Regions from separate parts of the Homo sapiens genome. Here region 1 is linked to region 2. The links are contacts of gene promoters, found by promoter capture Hi-C in human tissues and cell types (Jung and others, 2019). All regions are on one chromosome and are shown on one strand. Each heading gives the region's core, a stretch centred on a gene start or on the middle of the fragment in contact. The rest is flanking DNA. Distances are from core to core; before and after follow the strand shown. Region 1 overlaps SARDH (sarcosine dehydrogenase). Region 2 holds the start of ADAMTSL2 (ADAMTS like 2).

The links. The method cuts DNA at HindIII sites, captures the fragments that hold promoters and counts their contacts. A contact is called where the count stands out against the background at its distance.
Region 1: a fragment that was not itself captured here is called in contact with the fragment with the promoter of ADAMTSL2 in region 2 in 1 of the 25 tissues and cell types used here (H1 embryonic stem cells).

What each region holds. Positions count from the first base shown.
Region 1 is chr9:133,663,508-133,667,316 of GRCh38, forward strand. It overlaps SARDH (sarcosine dehydrogenase), which reads right to left. Exons shown (of 21, transcript NM_001134707.2): 20 at 3,228-3,363; 21 at 53-507. The coding sequence ends at 382. Among named protein-coding and RNA genes, the nearest start is that of DBH-AS1, 8.0 kb to the left of the region's middle. The HindIII fragment of the contact is 7,104 bases long and covers 1-3,809 here.
Region 2 is chr9:133,533,246-133,536,815 of GRCh38, forward strand. ADAMTSL2 (ADAMTS like 2) reads left to right here and starts at 1,459. Exons shown (of 19, transcript NM_014694.4): 1 at 1,459-1,672; 2 at 3,318-3,557. The coding sequence starts at 3,468. RefSeq lists a silencer at 1-65 and enhancers at 324-865, 866-1,405, 1,406-1,947, 2,488-3,029, 3,570. The HindIII fragment of the contact is 7,890 bases long and covers 1-3,570 here.

The sequences.
Region 1 (3,809 bases), core at 290-2,789, 130 kb after region 2:
GCCACCGATCAGTCAAGCCTGGAGTAAAAGATGAAGCCTATTTGCTTCGCTGTTTTCACGTGGGGCTTATCAAGTATTTACTAAGCACCTTCTAGAAGCTTGGAAAGGGCTACAAGCCATGGTCCCTGAGCCCAAGACACTTACAGGTTTGCTTTCTGGGAGGATTGGGGTGGATTAGAGACTGCCTTCCAGTCAGTGACCACAGGATGGGCCATCTTGGTCTCTGTCCGTATCTGGTTTGGGGGTTTTCGCAGGACTAGGCCTAGGCTAAGGACAGGGAGGGCACAAGTTCTGGCTGGGTCCAGGGTCCTGGGACCCAGGGCCATTTGGGACCTGTGAGAATGGATGGACAGCATGGGATGGGGCATGTGGTCTGAGCCCTCAGTAGATTCCCTTCACCCTCTTGTTGTTGGGGTCGAAGGGCGACTTCAGGTGAGCCTGGGCACCATAGGTCACCCCCATTCTCTCCAGGGCATAGTCCCCGCTCTTCACAAAGTCCAGCGAGACCTAGGAGCAGAGGTGGGGATGAGGATCACTCTCTGTTGGTAGGTACAGGGCTCACGTCTGCCTGCTTCTCTGGAGGAGGGGGTCTTGGTCTTGCTACCTGCCCTGTGGGCAAACTCATCCCTGTGCCAGGGACTCCTTTCTGAACCCAGGCATTGCCCCAGAGCAGGTGCAGTTCGTGTCCATGTGATCTTGAGTTGGACATGGGCATCTGGGGTCCGGCAAAGCCAAGGTCTGGCAGCCAATATGACTTCCACCGGACAACACACCTCCCACCCCAGCAATTCCAGATGCCTGGGAAACAGCAGCAACACGGTGGCTTCCCCGGACCCGGGCAAGCACAGCGGCCAGAGCAGCGCCGAGGCTGGGGGCCAATCCGGCTCGAATCCCTCGGGGCAGGGGCGGCTGGAACAGCCTTCTAGACAGCTTGGCCTCTGCATGCTCCCCATCCCACACCCTGGCTCGGGCTCCCCAGCAAGCGCTCGGGAGCCAGTCAGCCCCAGGTGCAGGTGCTCTTAGGCAGGAGGAGGGTGTCACCTCCAGCCTGGCACAGCTGGTGACGCCTGGCACTTTTGCTGCAGCTGCTATGAGGAGGGCAGGCTAGGCCACTCAGGGAAGCTGTTCTTCCTTTACAGCAATTAAACCCAAGGTCAGGGCCACAGGAGGGAGTCTCGGGCTCCGCTCTGGGAGTCAGAGGGCTCCTTCTTGTTCCTAGCAGCTCAGGACTGGATGAAAAAAATAAAAAACAAACCAAGCTTTTTCTGCGACAGGAGCTTTAGGAGTGGTGCTTCTGAGCCATGTGTGCACCTGCAGGGCTGAGAGCTCTGAGCTGCCCCCCGCAGGCAGGCAGCATGGAGAGCTGGTGGCCTTCAGATGTCCACGGGCATGCACAACTCAAAGCGGGCATCTGGCCTTGCTAACAGATACCTACGAGGCAGAAACGCCTTCCCCATCTCGGAGCCTTTCCCATCAATGAGCAGGTTTCCCTATCTTAGGCAGAAACCTCCGTTACCCCACTTGGGTGCTAGAAAATGTTTAACAACCAGCTCTGGGGTGAGGTGGGTGTGACTGTAGCATTTGCCCATTTCCATGGTGCAAATGCTCTGGACAGCCCTGATGGAGGGGGCAGGAGACGTGCACCGGCCGCTCTGGGTGCATCGACTGGTTCCCCGGCTGCCTGTCTGGATGCCGTTTAACCTCGGAACCTCGGCTTCCCTGGTCACGTTGGTTATGGACCCATCCCTGACTCCGGAGAAAGGCGAGCATTACTGTTCTTTGAAGAAATGGCAAAGGAGCCTCCACTCCCCAGCCCACCCTGGCATGGAGCCCATAAACTCCGGTTTGGCTGGGCCCCAGGGCTGTGGCCCCCAGGACCATGGCCCCAGGGCTGTGTCAGGAGGCCCTGCCCACCGTGGGAGCCATGCCATCACAATCCCCACATATTAAGACTCACTCTGTGCAGTGGCCTGTATGACAGCCCTGCATGGTAGGTGAGTGTCCACATTTTATAAATGAGGAAACTGAGGCTCCAAGAGAGGATCCTTATCCAAGGTCACAAAGCAAGTAAAAGGCAGATCCAAAGGCTAGTGGCATCAAGTGTGTCCCCAGCCTCCCAGCTCCACCGCCGGACTCAGCCCCATGGGCTGCCACTTCCCCACAGCTCCACAGGACCATGGTCTTGCCCGAGGCCTGGCGGTGTCCCCTCCCCATTGGGCCTGCGAGCTGGGCCTGCGCATGTTCTGCAGCTCTTGCTAAGGCTGCTCCGTCTCCAGCCTACCCCTCCTCATGGCTTCTCCCAAGTGCTCGCTCCCTCCCCAATTCCCTCTACGTGTCCATCAGGGGCTCAGGCTGGAAGGCTCTGGAGCCAGGCCAGCACCTCCCGGCCTCACTTAGGGCTTAGGCCAAACGTCAGATCGGCTCCCATGGAGAGACACGACCCTCCTCACCGGCACCTCTACTTGCAGTGCCAGAAAGATGGGAAAAGGAGGTGGAGGTAGAGACCACCCCTTCCCCTTCTGGGGAGGCTGCCCACCCCCTGCCCCACCACCCCTGGCCACCCAGAGCTGTCCTGGGACTTGCTCCTGGGGGCAGTGCCTGCTCTTTCCAGCCTGTTCCTGCCTCCTGCAGCCAGGGGTCAGGGTCACCTGGAGGGGGTGGGGTTGCCTGGGGTCAGGGGTGTCGGGGGTGAGGAAAGAGAGGATAGGAACATGGGTCTCTGAGTCTCTAGTCGGTCACCCTGGGGGCCACCCCTGCACCCCAGGCAAAGGGTGGGCTGTGGGTGGCCTGAGGTTTGGGTCTCTGGTGTGAGGAGCTGGAAGGTATCAGCCTGGCTGGCTGGCACCTCCTTCTAACCAAAAAAAGCCTGGAATCACCAAAGTCGGATTCTTCCAGAAAGAAAACAGAGAGCAGCTTTGGCTCTGCCCAGGCACAGCTGGGGAGTCCTCCACCTGCTGAGGCCTCTTCCTCCCCCTTCTCCTTCTCCCTCCCTCCTCCCTCTCCCTCCTCCTCCTCCTTCCTCTCTCCCCTTTTTCCTTCCCCCTCCTTCTCCTCCTTCCTTCCTCCCCCTCTTCCCTCCTCCCTCCTTTCTCTTCCCTCCTCCTCTTCTGGACCACACCCGTGCCTCCTCCCTATGCCCGGCACACTCAGGGTGCAGTGCAGGGAGCTGGTTTGGAGCTGGTGAGGGATCGGCATCTGCCTTAGCAGGGCCAGAGAAGGGGACTCACCGGCCCACCGCTGGGGTCATGGATGTAACCGTAGGCGATGGTCTTGTCGATGGCGAACCCAAAGTCAGCCCTCCGGACATGGCCCACCACTTGGCCGTTCCTCCAGATGGCCTCCAGGCCAAACATGGGTACTTTGCTGGAAGAAGCAGTAGAGAAAGCTGGGGCCCCAGAAACCGCAGGGTGGGGACGCGTCCACAGCGGCCTGGAGGAGAATGGGGGGCTGCATGATGCACACCCAACCGTGGCTCCAGGCAGATAGGGCTGGCCTACTAGGACTACGCTGGTCCCCAGAGCCAGCCCAGCACCTGGCCTGGACAGCAGGGCTCGGGCTTCGAGTGAGTAAAAGGGATGAATAGAAAACATCAAAACCAGGAGTGGACTTTGCTGTTTCCAGAAGCGAGCCCCGTATATTTGGGAGGGCCCCTGCTTCCGATTTCCTTCCATTGTTGTTCAACTCTGGTTTTTTTTTTTTTTTTTTTTTTGGTGCAGTGGCACAATCTAGACTCACTACAACCTCCGCCTCCCAGGTTCAAACGATTCTCCTGCCTCAGCCTCCGGAGTAGCTGGGATTACAGGCACCCA
Region 2 (3,570 bases), core at 209-2,708:
GGGGCAGTGTGGGCCTGGGTTAGGGTTAGGGTTAGTCCTGGTTCCACACCGCAGGTGGCCCTGTGACTAGGAGCAGCCACCTTGCATCCCAGTTGCCCCAGCAGGAGAATGAGATGAATAAGACTTGCCTGCCCGAGGGTCCCGGGGAGAGAAACTTAAACAACCCGGCAGAGGAGAGAACCCGACACTCAGGAGCGCTGGCATCCCAGCCTTGCCTACTGGAGAGGTGACTTGGTCCCCGAACCTCAGTTCTTCCACCTGTGAAATGCAGATCATAAAGGTGGATCTGGCCTCACAGCTCTGGGCCCGTAGGACAAGCTGGACAGAGGGCAGACGGTATTATCGCTTTCACTACTATTACTGGTGGCTTTCCTTCCCAGCCTTTCTGGTGGGTGGTCAGACACAGGGCAGAACTTTCTCATGAAGGCAGCTGAAGGAACTCACAAGTTTCTTCCAGCAGGGAGGACAGAGGGAAGGAGAAGTGTCTTCCCGGCACTGCTGTGGGCCCAGGACATCTGCTGCATGGAGGCAGGGGCATGGATGAAAAGACACAGATGACCTGATGGAATGGTGCCCCAGCTTCCTCCTCCTCCCCTTTTTGGAGGTGCCTCTGTTTGCCGAGGATGGGCTCTGGGGAAGCTGGTGTGCAGAGGCTAGGTGCCCAGCCTTGCTTTAGGAAAGCCTCACAAAGTCTGGGGCCCGCCGGGAGTTTCCCAGGGGGGCTCTGCTGCTCCACCCACTCTCGCTCCCCTCTGTGCCCTGACTCAGCAGGAACAGAGGCTTGAGCTCCAGGCCTGGCCTGCCAGGGGCTGCCAAGTTGGTGCTGGACATCTGCAGAATCCCTGAGCCTCTCTGCCCTGGCCCTGGCTGCTCTAGCCATCTGGTCAGCAGGCCACGGGCACATCTGTCTCCTCCCTGGAGCCCTTGGTTCATTCTCGCTGGGTCTCCCTGCGTCCCTCCACCTGCTTAGGCCCCTGCATCTCGGGAGCTTTCTGAGGCTCGTGACCTGGGGCACGGTCGTCCCGGAAGTTCAGCCTTTCCCTCCGTACAACGGAGCCATCAGACGGGACACCTCATACATCCCAGACCCCATTCTCAGGAGCCCCAGGGACAGGGCCCGCTCTGGAGGCAGAAGCCGGACAGGCGGGGCTGGGGCTTTGCCACCGCCAGCCTCCCCGGTAACCTCAGGCCAGCGGCTGCTCCGTCTGGACACCCGACATGTGGCCCCCAGTTCTGGACCCGGGAAGAAGGCCTCCCTGCTCGCCGCTCCTGGGCCGCCGCCGCCGGCAGCAGCCAACAGGCAGCTGGGCCGGCCTGGCCGGGCTCCAGAGGCGCAGAGCGGGTTAAAGTGTGCGCCAGGCCGGCCGGCGCGGGCGGGGGAGCGGCCTGGTGGGAAGTGTGAGTGTTCCTCCCCGTCTGCCTGACAGCTATAAAGGCGGCCGCCGGCGCAGAGCCGCCACTGGGCTGCGCCCCTCCCGGGAACCCCCTCTCTTGGATGCTCTTTGAAGTGGGAGAGGGAGGCGGCGCGGGGGAGGAGGGGAAGGGGAGAGGGAGGCCGGGCCGCAGCCTCTGCACTCACGCCGCCCCCGCACGCACAGCGCACCTGGCGCCGTCTGCCCTCCGCAGCGCTCGCCCCTTTCTCTGGGAGGACAACCTGCTGACCCGAAGCCAGGTAGGCCACCTCGTCCCCGTCCCCCTCACGTTGCAGCGTCCACCAGGCCAGCCCACTGCTCAGAGTGGGGCTGGGGGTAGGAGCACCCCGCGCCCTCTGGAGCCGTTACATAACGTGGGGAGGCTTGTGGGGAGGGGTCGGGCCGCAGAGCACGGGGCAGGGTGGCCTCCCAGCACCTAGCCTTGTGCGCCCGGAGCTCTGTGTGCACGGCAGACCTCTCTGCTGCCGCCAGCCGCTGCTTTTGGACCCCAGGGAGGGATGGATCCCCGTGAGCGAGGCCTGGCCAGAAGCCAGTGGTGTCTGGAAGCCTTAATGAAAAAAGCAAGTGTGAGGCCGGCTGGCACCTGTCTTCAGCCGGCAGGCAGAGGCTGGGGCACCCGTTAGCCAATGGCACAGTGGAGGGGGCTCCTGTGGGTGTGAGGCTGAGAGTGCAGATGGAGGTCTGCAGGGGAGGGAGGTGGGGGGCAGGCGGCGGGGGCAGGGGAGGTCAGACTCAGGCTCCCCACTCCAGGGTGCACTGCTGCGTCGTCCGGGCTGCAGTGGTGTCCTTGGAGTGGCCCCTGAAAATCTGCAGGTGCCGGGCCTGCAAGGAAACTCTTCAAGTTGGATGGAGGCTGCTGAGGAGGGAGGGGCAGAGCCCGAGTTGGCCTCTGGCCTGGCAGGGGTGAGGGGTGACCTCCATGCCTTCTTCCCCTGGAATTGGCCAGGCGTGGGGGTCGAGTCCCTGAGTTTGCTAGTGTGCTACCTTGCTGTGTGGCTTTGAGCAGGTTGGCTCCCCTCTCTGGGCTCCAGGTTATGAGTGCAGGCTGCGTGGTTTCTGAAATCCCTTCTCTAACTCGCTGGCAAGTGACCCTCAGCACCTGAGCAAGGCCTGGACAGAGGTCATGGTGGATCTCTGGTCTTCCCTTCCACAGGGCAGGGTCGACGCTGAGGAGGGGGTGGGGAGAGCTGAGGGCCTGGAGGCTGGACAGTCCCTTCCAATGGGCTTGCTTTGACCCCTGGCAGGTGTTTTGAGCCAAGGGTGCTGGCTGTTGGGAGGAAGTCAGCCTTGTGGCCCTGGACTGCTGACATGCTGGCACAAACTGCACCTCCTCCTGCCCTGCCCCTCCCCCAATTCCATCTTCTCTCCGGGGATCGGGAGGCGGCATAGGTACCTGGGTTCTGCCTCACCTGAGTGCCGGCTGTTGCTGGATGCTGACTGTGGAGCTGCTGGTCTAGGGCGAGGCTGCACATTCCCCCGGGACCTGGCCAAGCCCATCCCCATGCACTGACCCTAGCAGCCAGTGGCAGAGGCCATTCTCCTGCGAGGCCAGCAAGAGCTGAGCCAGTTAAAATCCCAAGGTGCTCCTGCCAAGGCGCTGGACTGAGCCCAGGCCCATCCCTTCGAACCAGAGCCTTTCCCCCCGCCTGGGTCCCCAGCCCCCTCAGCCGAGGCTGGCTGTCTCCACAGCCCTTCTCTAGGGGGCTTGAGGACTTGGAGGCAAAGCATGGCATGCTTCCCTGCATGCCCTTGGATCAAGGGTGGCACAGGCTTAGCACGCACACCGCCGCTGGGTGTCTTGCCTGAAGCAGGCATTACTAATCATTCACCAAGCTCCTTCTTGCTAAGCCTAGACTGAGGCGGGGGGTTCATCCTTCCCAACAGGGTCTGCCAGACAACCACGACCAACTAGTCCCAGATAACCTTGAGGCCTGGGCACTGGCTGGGCCCCGAGGGCTCTTCCCAAAGCGTACCCTGGTCATCTGGAAGAGGATCGGAGCTGGCCTGGTGGTGACAGTGGCCTTGCTTCCTAGGATGGATGGCAGATGGCAATGTTCCTGCTGGGCCTGGTTCCTGCTGGTTCTGGCAGTTGTAGCTGGGGACACAGTGTCAACCGGGTCCACGGTGAGTGGGGTGT